Linked DNA regions of Homo sapiens: all the other regions are linked to region 1. The links are contacts of gene promoters, found by promoter capture Hi-C in blood cells and fetal thymus (Javierre and others, 2016). All regions are on one chromosome and are shown on one strand. Each heading gives the region's core, a stretch centred on a gene start or on the middle of the fragment in contact. The rest is flanking DNA. Distances are from core to core; before and after follow the strand shown.

The links. The method cuts DNA at HindIII sites, captures the fragments that hold promoters and counts their contacts. A CHiCAGO score of 5 or more calls a contact.
Region 2: a fragment that was not itself captured here is called in contact with the fragment with the promoter of RFT1 in region 1 in 1 of 17 cell types (neutrophils); the score reaches 6.2 in neutrophils.
Region 3: a fragment that was not itself captured here is called in contact with the fragment with the promoter of RFT1 in region 1 in 1 of 17 cell types (M0 macrophages); the score reaches 6.1 in M0 macrophages.
Region 4: a fragment that was not itself captured here is called in contact with the fragment with the promoter of RFT1 in region 1 in 3 of 17 cell types (M1 macrophages, neutrophils and M0 macrophages); the score reaches 6.9 in M1 macrophages.

Annotation. Positions count from the first base shown.
Region 1 is chr3:53,129,074-53,131,842 of GRCh38, forward strand. It overlaps RFT1 (RFT1 glycolipid translocator homolog), which reads right to left and starts at 1,362. Exons shown (of 13, transcript NM_052859.4): 1 at 1,265-1,362. The coding sequence starts at 1,327. RefSeq lists enhancers at 1,218-1,407, 1,418-1,467, 1,508-1,707, 1,718-1,767. The HindIII fragment of the contact is 8,425 bases long and covers 1-2,769 here.
Region 2 is chr3:53,339,039-53,341,807 of GRCh38, forward strand. All of the region lies in intron 3 of DCP1A (decapping mRNA 1A), which reads right to left. Among named protein-coding and RNA genes, the nearest start is that of DCP1A, 7.1 kb to the right of the region's middle. The HindIII fragment of the contact is 5,444 bases long and covers 1-2,769 here.
Region 3 is chr3:53,318,140-53,320,908 of GRCh38, forward strand. It overlaps DCP1A (decapping mRNA 1A), which reads right to left. Exons shown (of 10, transcript NM_018403.7): 4 at 1,268-1,334. Among named protein-coding and RNA genes, the nearest start is that of SNORD38C, 14 kb to the right of the region's middle. The HindIII fragment of the contact is 510 bases long and covers 1,119-1,628 here.
Region 4 is chr3:53,274,089-53,276,857 of GRCh38, forward strand. All of the region lies in intron 1 of LOC107986087 (a long non-coding RNA gene), which reads left to right. Among named protein-coding and RNA genes, the nearest start is that of TKT, 19 kb to the left of the region's middle. The HindIII fragment of the contact is 359 bases long and covers 1,215-1,573 here.

The DNA of each region.
Region 1 (2,769 bases), core at 112-2,611:
TGGATAAAACAATAAACTCAGTTATTTATGTAGTGAAACAGAAAAAAAAAATCCCTAGGTAAACTTAGAATGGCTAACATTTACTAAGCACATATCACGTGCAAGGCACTCTTCAACATGCTTTCCATAGGTTATCTCATTTCATTCCTACATTGACTATTTTAAAAATACTTATTACCCTAATAAAAATAGCTACATTTATTAAGTACTTGTAGTGTGCCAGGCACTTAAGAGGCATGATTTCATCTAATCTTCCTAATGACCCTGTGAGGTTGCACTATGATTCTCATTTAAGATGAAGAAACTGATACAGAAGTCATCGGATTTATCCCGAAGGCAGGCATCTAGCAAGTGACAAGGCCCAAACTCAAGCCCCATTCTGCTTGGTTCTTTCTTCTGCCCTCCATGTGCCTCTCTAAGATAAGGGGTAGGGTAGATTCGGGACTTGTGTGAAGTAGGGTTGATTGGCTCAAGAGTGAGACAGAGAGATACTGAGCCACTTGACTTAAGAGGTTCAGCTCCTGGGGTTGAAAGAATCTTCAGATACCATTTGGACTAACTGGCCTGTATCATACCTGACAGATGACAAAAATTAGGGCCAAGAAGGGAAGTGACTTGTCCAAGATCACATAAACAGAAGATGCAGCCAACATGTATTAAATGCATACTAAGAGCCGGGTACTGTGTTAAGTACGTTTATTTGAATGATCCCAATCAATCCCTGCTTATGAGCTAAGTACGACATATTATTACCCCCATTTTACTAGTGAGGAACTCAGGCTCTGCAGGTGAAGTCACTTGTCCTGGGTCACGGAGCAATCCAAGCCTAACTCCAGATTTCTCTTCTTAGCTATGCCATATGGACTCTCGGAACTCAGTGGGACTCAAAGTTTGAGGAAGGTGTTTGATGAAGGAAATGAACCCCTTGCCTGAAAAATATCAGATTCTCGAGCACGAAATACCAGTCCCTCACCCCCGCCACCTGATCTAATTCACTCCTACTGCCATATGGGAAATAGAATGCTCAGAAGGAAAGCGGCTTGTCTGCAGTCACCCGGCCTAGACTCTAAAGGCAGGCTCCTATCTCCGGGCCAGGGTCCCCCCTCATCAATGCCACCGTCTCCGGTCGACCCCCCCACCCCCTCCATTGCGGGGTCCACCTCGGGACTGGGTCGGCCCTGGGGCAGGCTCTCAAGGGCCCAAGGGCTGCCATCCCGCGAATCCCGGCTGCAGTACAAGCTGGAACCTGAAGGGCAGAGAGTACCTGCAGGAGGAGACCGGAGGAGGCCAGCCGGGCCGCGTGGCCCAGCACCTCCTGGCTGCCCATAGCCTCCGCGCCAGGCTCAGACACCAGGAAATGCCGCCGCCACTCCGTTTAGTCGCGATAAGATGGCGTCACGGCGCGCCTCGCTGTCTGATTGATGGCCTTGAGAGAGGGGGGCGGGGCACGAGAAGTTCTGGTCCTTTAAGTGGGCCTGTCTCGGGCCGTCTGTTATGGCGCCTGGCTCTTTCTATTTCGGTAGGTTTTGCGCTGTCTGTCGCTTGTGCGCTGTCTGTCCCTCTCTTCCCCGTATAAACGAAATAGTGTGGCGAGTACTAAGAGATACCGTTAAAGAATCCAAAGTTCCTTCTCTGAGGCTTTCAGCCACCAACCAAGAAGCACTAACTTTCCTGGCCTCATCTGCCAAAAGGGGAACAAACTTCTCACTGGCCCGTTAAGAAGATTCTCACCATTGACCTTTGCTTACAGAATCACAGCCACAGACCCTCTGAATTAGGCTGGACAGGAATTGTCCTCATTTAACAGAGAAAGAACTGAGGACCAGAAGTTAGATATAGCACTGTTATGTGTATGGTTTTGTGAAATCCTTCCGAAAGCTCTGAGAATTGGCCCCTGTGGTTAGAGATGAGTAAAGCCTTGGAGATGGGAAGTGACTTGTTCGAATCTACACAACTTGTTTCCTGACTAAGTGGATACCAGGCTCCTGATCCTAAACTTATCACTCTTGCCTGTATGCTAGAAATTGTGAGGGCAGAGTGGAAGAAGGACTGGAAGTGCTTTGTAAAAAAATGTAAAGCGCCCAACATACACAATCAGCTGCTGTTCTGTCAGTGTTCTTATTATCTACCAAGCAGGCTGTAGGAAGCCCAGTCTTTCCCCAATCTCTTTCAGTCCTCACATGATTTGGCCCCAACCTATCTTCTACTACCTTTCACACGATCATTGCCCTTCCCAACACTATCTAGGCCATAGCCATTCCGAGTCCTTACTGGTCCTCAAACAGGCGGTGACTCACTGGCCTTTGCTCCTCCACCCTCTTTGTCCAAAGTGTCTTCCCTGACAGCACCCCTTGCCCTCCTAGACCACACTGTCCTGACTTTCCTGGCCAACCACAGCTGGTACCTGCTGTGGACTAAATGTTTGTGTACCCTCAAAATTCATATGTTGAAGCCTAATCCCCAGTGTGATAGTATTAGGAGGTAAGGCCTTTGGGAAGTAATTAGGTCCTGAAAGTGGAGCCGTCATAATGGGATTCATGTCCTTATAAAAAGAGATGTCAGAAAAATGATCTCTGTGTTTACTATTTGAGGATACAGCAAGAATGTAGCTGTCTGCAACCACGAAGAAGGCTTTGTAAAATGTAAGGCGCCCAACATACACTTAACAGGAACCAAACTGGCTAGCACCTTGATCTTGGGCTTCCAGCCTCCAGAGCTGTGAGAGAAATTTCTGTTTTTGACTTACCCAGTCTATGGTATTTTGTTACA
Region 2 (2,769 bases), core at 157-2,656, 210 kb after region 1:
CAAGAGAATGGCAGAAGTGCAGCTATAGAATCAGGTATAATTACCTGTATGCATAATCAGATACTAACTTTTTATTTAAAGAACAAATCCCTAAACAACTTAATAGCTCGCTGACCTGACAAGACTATTTTCCACTTTTAAGACTATGTAGACAAAACACACACTCGAGAGGGCTTAACACTCACAAAATCATTTTCTGTTGTCTTATCACTTCTCCCCAATACAGCTATTCCTTTAAATACTTTCCCTAATGAAATGACCTGGTTAAGTGAGTTTTCTGTTCAACTAAGAAAACTTTTGTTTCAATCAGTTGAAAATTTTCTAAAGTAAAATGCATTAATGCACTTTCTCCCCAAGAATGTTCTAGTTAACATAATAAATACTCCTGATGATTTTAGGTCTCACTATAACAATTTAACCTATGATACTACAGTGGAGTTAAAGTTATAAAATATTGACATTTTAATGCCGACCCCAGGTTATTCTCTGGATATCTGCTTGATTTTCAGAAAATAAAACCTAGTATTAGCTTGTTTTCTTATAATTTGCCTTCATTTCTTCCACACACGAACTATAAAAATATTTCCAGACAACTGAAGCTCTAATTAGTTAGCTTCTGGTTACTCATGGTTCAATTACATTTGTGTTATGTCACACTTTCAATTTCACAGGACTTTTGCCTTGTGAAAAAAATATAATACAATTCATCTCAGGTTTATGCTAAATGGTAACTGGGTCCGGATAACTTTCCCTACTGACTACTTTAATAATCAAACCACTTAGGAGTGATGGCTAGATTAAGTTTCCAGGCAGTAAAGAACAGAATTAAGCCTATTTCACTTAAAAAAAAATTGGATCCATATTCATTTGCAGAATTTCTCCCACCCTCTTTTCATTTTTTGAGTCAGGGTCTCGCTTGTTGCCCAGGCTGGAGTGCAGTGGCGCAATCATGGCTCACTGCAGCCTGGACAGCCTCCTGGGTTCAAGCGACTTTCCCACCTCAGCCTCCTGGGTAGCTGGGACTACAAGTGTGTGACACCACACCTGGCTAATTTTTCTATTTTTTTGTGGAGTGGGGGTTTTGACATGTTGCCCAGGCTGGTCTCAAACTCCTGGGCTCAAGCAATCTGCTTGCCTCGGTCTCCCAAAATCGTGGGATTGCAGGTGTTGAGCCACTTTGCCCAGCCGAATTTTCCCTTTAATGGAATATTCAGTACAAAGAAAAGAGCAATCTGAAATAATTACATTGTTAACATTAGTTTAAATAAATCCATCTGAACTTACAGCTATTACAAAGCATGTCTAATATGTCCACAGAATTTAAAATCTGAGAGGTAATTACCTGGACAAATAGTTTACTGAGAAGTCAAAAGATAGAACCTATTTCACTTATACTTCAAAGTGTGCTACGGAAAAGAACTTGGGGGTTTCTAGCTTTAAAATAGGCCTTGTTACTTCTCATTCAGGGAATTAAGAGGTGTATAATTTTTAGTAACTTTTTCTATTTTATACTGAAGACATCCCCCAAGACCAATTACCCCCCCGCCAAGTGAAATTCAAACACATTAACTTTTACTTTTTAAGTTAGAAGCAACATTTCTCCAACTATATCCTTAGATGCCAATTAGAGCACAATCATTGTTACCATAACCAGTTTTCATATCCCTATAGTCAATGTCCAACAAACTGTCCTCAAACACCCATACCTTCAATATCCATACTAATACACTGGAATCAAGTATATTTTTTAGTACTGTAGTTTCTTGGAAGGGCCACTCTAGCTTTGCTGACTACATCCAATCGTTATTAGAGATTGTAAAAATGCCTGAAAGAACCCTGGACTAAAAAGCAGAAGAATAGTCATAATCCTAACTCTCCAACAGGGTAATAGTTATGCATCTCTGAGTCTCAGTTGACTTAACTGCCTGCTTACACCACATAGGTAACTGTATCGTTAACATTAAAGCACCACAGCTCTTGGCTCAGTGCTGGTAACCAGTAGACACTCAATTAAATAAACAGATAGAAAAACCTTACTTAGAAACATATTCAGACAAAATAAAGTAGAAAAAGTAATAAATATCTTAAAAAAAAAAACCCATCACCACTATTCTGGGCAAAAATAATATTTTCTGGCCGGGCGTGGTGGCTCATGCCTATAATCCCAGCATTTTGGGAGGCCGAGGCAGGCAGATCACAAGGTCAGGAGATCAAGACCATCCTGGCTAACACGGTGAAACCCCTTCTCTACCAAAAATACAAAAAAATTAGCCAGGCGTGGTGGCGGGTGCCTGTAGTCCCAGCTACTTGGGAGGCCGAGCCAGGAGAAGGGCATGAATCCGGGAGGCAGAGCTTGCATGAGCCTAGATCACACCACTGCACTCCAGCCTGGGCAACAGAGCAAGACTCCGTCTCAAAAAAAAGAAAATAATAATAGTAATAATAATACTTTCTTTGTGGAAAGAATTATCTGTATCTGTTCCCATCCTGTGTGTCCCAAACTAAGTTCTGTTGCTTAGGGACATGGGCAGCTGATAGTCCACAGCTGCAAAAAAACAAAGGCATAAACCTTATTTTAATAAACCGACAACAGAAATGTAGTGCTATTAAATGAAATAGTAAACTAAATTATATACAAAAGAATGTTTCCAGTTTCAGAGCCCAGTTTATTTATTTATTTTTTTGAGACACAGTCTCATTCTGTTGCCCAGGCTGGAGTACAGTGGCGCGATCTCAGCTCACTGCAACCTCCACCTCCCAGGTTCAAGT
Region 3 (2,769 bases), core at 124-2,623, 190 kb after region 1:
CCCACCCCCCAAAAAATTAGCTGATAGTGGTGGTGCATGCCTGTAGTCCCAGCTACTTGAGAGGCTGAGATGGGAGGATCACTTAAGCCCAGAAGTTTGAGGCTGCACTGAGCTGTGACTGCGCCACTGCACTCCAGACTGCGTGACAGAGCGAGACTCTGTCTAAAAAAAACCAAATAAAGTAAAATAAAATAAAAATAAAATAAGATTAGACTGTTAAAAAATTTAAGATTATTTTCTTTTAAACATGTGATTGAAAACTGTAAGAGAGCAAAAGGAATTTTGATTTGACAGATGGGGATGGTGGAGGGGGGAGAGAGGTCCACATTTCTGAGAAGATTCAGGCAAAAACTGAAAAAAAGCAGAGGTGCACCAGAATATACCGTCTACCTATTATAGCATTTTGCCCAGAGCTCTGTAGTCCCTCAGGCCCCCTGAAGCCCCGTGTAATGGGCTTCCAGAATCCAGAATGGCAGTCCAGCAATACGGATAGGTCACACAAGGGCTGGCTTCTACAGGCTAGCTTGAGAGAGGACAATGAACTGCCCTTTAGAACATTAATTCAAGGAAAATAATTTTCTAAATTTCAAGGTTCTGAGTCACAAAAAATCTTCTGGAACACAACCCATGAGTGGATTGGGGCCTGTTAAGCCTAGAGTCTGTGTCAAAAACAAGTTCACTTAAAAGAACTAAATACAGATGTGTGTATGAGTTCTCTATCAGGCTATCACATATGGTATCACTTGTTACAGTGGAAATCTGCACAGAACCTAAATCAGAGTTGCTGTATATGGTCAGGCTGTACACCTGATGCAGATATCCTCTGGAGCCGGGCAGTTTGGCAGCCTTAACCTACAGGTCCAACAGTAAAGTTCTGGTTAAATCATGATCTGTCTATAGAGCTGGATACAATGCAGCTGTCATAAATACTACAGAGAAAGATTTAATGCCCTGGAAAAATGCTGTTGATATGAAAAGCAGTATACATACAGTAGGATCCTATTTTTGTAAAAAAACAATCACACACATCTACTTAATATATACACAAAGAAGGAAGACTGGAAGGAAACTGAAATGCACACTGGGAGGAGTTAAGATAATAATTATATATATTTTAAAGCTTTTCAGCCTTTTCCAAGTTTTTGGCAGTAAAAAGAAATTGGGGAAATACATGAGTTGGCAGACTTTAGTAACAAAGAGAAGTGGGAGGGGATTATTTTTCATTTCTCACATATCATCAGTTAAATTTATGGAGTAATATACTTACTCAGCCATGAGTTTTGCTATGCGGTGACAGTCATTCTTGTCATAAAACCAGATACTATATATCGACACTTGAAAAACAAAGGGAAAAAAAGATAAGAAGAAATGAGGTTTCAACATTTGGGTGTATGTAAATAATATATTATCATCATGGAATTCACTAAATGTACCATCAGACCCTCAAATTGTTAATACTCTATCTAAAGAAAACAAGTATCTCCTCCCCAAATTCTGTTTAATAAAATCAGGACAGGTAAAACATTCAGATAAAGATTACACAAAATAGTTTTAGACATTATCACCAGATCTCAGTGAACCTAAGATGTTACTAAGTGTAAGATGCAACCATTATTTATGTACTATCAAGCTTTTAAGCAAAAGGCTCCCAATTAAACTAAGAATCATATTGATTCTAAGATGCATTCTAAATTGATATTAAAATTGTTGCCGGGCATGGTGGCTCACACCTGTAATCCCAGCACTTTGGGAGGCTGAGGTGGGCGGATCACTTGAGGTCAGGAGTTTAAGACCAGCCTGGCCAACATAGGTGAAACCCGTCTCTACTAAAAATACAAAAATTAGCCAGCTGTGGTGGCGTGCCTGTAATCCCAGCTACTTGGGAGGCTGAGGCAGGAGAATCGCTTGGGCCCGGGAGGCAGTGGTTGCAGTGAGCCGAGATCACGCCACTGCACTCCAGCCTAGGCAACAGAGTGAGACTCCATCTAAAAAAAAAAAAAAGATATTAAAATTGTTACAATACAAAGCTTTCAAAACAAACCCCAGCTCTATATCCATCCTATGACTGACTGTTTACATGTGAAATGGACTGAGCTCAGTCTATGGCATTTCTTATCCCATTCTTTTTATTCCCAATATGGTGCTCAGTTCAAAGAAAGCCCTAAACAAACTTGCTGCAAGATAAATGAACTTTATTAAAGATTATAATATATTAAAGCTACTATAACTGCTTTTTGGATAAGGTAGAGTAGAATACTGAACATACAAGCTGAAACAGACACACGGATGGATAAGACCCATTGCTACCATGTGGGCCCATATGATGACACACCTCAGCATACCTTGTACCTCCTTAAATACTTACAATGATTCCCTAGCACAGAAATGGCAGGTATCATTATGCTTTTTTTAAGAAAACATTAAAACTTTTTATTTTGAAATAATTGTACCTTCAAATGCAACTGTAAAGAACAGACAGATCTTGGTGCCCTATAAATTGTTTCCTCCAATGGTAACATTTTACAAAATTATGGTATACTATCACAGCCAGGATACTGACATCAGTCGAGATACAGAAATTTCCATGGCCACCAGGATACCTGGTGCCCTTTTATAGCCCAAATCCACCTTGCTCTGGCCCCTCCCGTCCCTGACTCTTGGCAAATAGGAACCTGTTCTCTATTTCTACAATGTTGTAATTTCAAGAGTATTATATTACATAAATGAAACCACAGAAGTCATAGAAGACTGCTGTCCATTCCAAGCTGG
Region 4 (2,769 bases), core at 144-2,643, 150 kb after region 1:
TCAGCCTGGCATGGTGGTGTGCACCTGTAATTCCAGCTACTTGAGAGGCTGAGGCAGGAGAATTGCTTGAACCTGGGAGGTATGGTTGCAGTGAACCGAGATCGCGCCACTGCACTCCAGCCTGGGCAACAGAGTGAGGCTCTGTCTCAAACAAAACAAAACAAAACAAAAACAAAAACAAAAACAAAAAGCAAAAAACCCCAAAAAACAAAACAAAAAAAACCAAACCAAAAAACCTATCAATTCTCCTGAGAACTAACAGTAAGGACTCACTCACTGCCACGAGAAAGGCAGGAAGCCATTCATGTGGGATCCACTCCTGGGGTCCAAACACCTCCCACCAGGACCCACCTCCAACATCAAGATCACATTTCAACATCAGATTTGGAGGGGACAAACATGACAAATGTCAGCTTATGATTTCTTGTGGAATTGCACTTCAAATTTATTCAGACTCATCTGAAATAAATGTTGGTTGAACATGATGTGACTGTCACATTGACTTTGCATCACCTCTCCCCCAGCCATTCCATCTCTGCTGGTTATAAGAAATCTCTTACTAGCAGTCGTTTAATTGTTGTTTACTTTAAAAGTCGCTTACTTTAAAAGTCGTTTACTTTATCTTAGTTTATTTTTTAGAGATAGAGTCTTGCTCTGTTGCCCAGGCTGGAGTGCAGTGGCACAATCGTAGCTCACTGCAGCTCCTAGGCTCAAGTGATCCTCCCACCTCAGTGTCTAGAGTAGGTGAGACCACAGGCACATACCACCCACACCTGGCTGATTTTTAAATTTATTTTGTATAAGGGGTGGGGATGTTGCAATATTGCCCAGGTCAATCTTGAACCCCTGGGGTCAAATGATCCTCTCACCTTCGCCTCCCAAAGTGCTAGGATTACAGGTGTGAGCCACCTGTGTCCAGCCTAGCTGTCTTTACTTTTGGCTAATGTAGCCTGGTGAACCTGAAGAGACATGCAAGGTGCATAAGGCTCTCATGGGCTGGGAGCCCCATGGCATAGGCTCAGCATGGGTTCCTTATACCTCTGTGTGAGTGTGGCAGCTATCTTCTTACCTAAAACTCCATTCAGCAAACTCTAAGAGGTTTAGAATCTTGAATTGATCTAAGCCCTTTAGAAAGCTCTTAGGACTCTTCATATTACATGTAATAGGTAGCCAGTTCATACTGCGTCAAACATGGAAGTGGAGGGTGAGCTTCAAGCTTGGTTTGATTCTGTGACTGGGTATTTCTTGCTGTTGCTTCCTTCTGTCTTCATCTGATGGTGGGCTTCCTGCTCATCGACAGCCTGGCTGCACCACTTCCCGCCTCTCCTCTGGTGAGAGAGACTGTCTGGGTCCTGACAGCTGAGACAAACATTACTTTTCAGAAGACTCAACGAGCTGTTATTCATACACTTCTTATTGAAAGATCAGATTTTTTATAGCAACACCTAATCTATGAACAAGGACCCATAAACAGTGAGGGAAAATGTCTTTAGAGACAACCAAGAAATCTCAAACCCATCTGTTCAATTTAAAGAGGAAACTCTACAGCTCTTATTCAGGACCTGTTGACTTAAGCTTTTCACAAAATTCCAATGAACTTGGTTACCTGGCTTCCTAGAACTTGACAGGTGAAAAGCAGCAGGTGAGAAGCTTTTAATAAACAGCAGTAACGTGAATGACCTCAGACACTATGAAAAGCCTCAAGGATAATTTATCACTTAGGCAACGGAGTCAAGAAAGGAATTCCGGCCGGGCGCAGTGGCTCTCGCCTGTAATTCCAGCACTTTCGGAGACCGAGGCGGGTGGATTACCTGAGGACAGGAGTTCAAGACCAGTCTGGCCAACATGGTGAAACCCTGTCTCTACTAAAAATTAAAAAAAAAAAAAAAAAAAGTAGCCAGGCATGGTGGCATGTGCTTGTAGTCCCAGCTACGTGGGCGGCTGAGGCAGAATTGCTTGAATCTGGGAGATGGAGGTTGCAGTGAGCCGAGATCGCACCACTGCACTCCAGCCTGGGTGACAGAGTGAGACTCTCTCTCTCAAAAAAAAAGAGAATTCTAGAGTACCTCTCCAGGCTGCTTAGTTCAGGTCCTTGACCACCTCTGCTTAATATGCAACCTTTGGCACAGACTCAGACTCAGTCACTCTCAGCTTCAATGTCCTTCTCCTAACATGGGTTATTGTGAAGATCAGGAAAATAATCAACAGCAATTCTTTAATATTTTTTTTTTTGAGATGGAGTTTCACTCTTGTTGCCCAGGCTGGAGTGCAATGGCGCGACCTTGGCTCACCGCAACCTCCACCTCCCAGGTTCAAGTGATTCTTCTGCCTCAGCCTCCCGAGTAGCTGGGATTACAGGCTTGCGCCACCACACCTGGTTAATTTTGTATTTTTAGTAGAGACAGGGTTTCTCCATGTTGGTCAGGCTGGTTGCGAACTCCCAACCTCAGGTGATCCGCCTGCCTTGGCGTCCCAAAGTGCTGGGATTATAGGCGGGAGCCACTGTGCTCGGCCATGCTAAAAAAAATTTTTTTCCCCCTAGCTACTGGGGAGGCTGAGGCACGAGAATCACTTGAGCCCGAGAAGTGAAGATTGCAGTGATCAGAAACCACGCCACTGCACTCCAGTCTGGGCGACAGAGCTAAAAAAAAAATGAGGCAGGGTCTGGCTCTGTCACCCAGGCTGGAGTGCAGTGGCGCGATCTCGGCTTACTGCAACCTCTGCCTCTCAGGTTCAAGCAGTCGTCCCTCCTCAGCATCACAAGTAGCT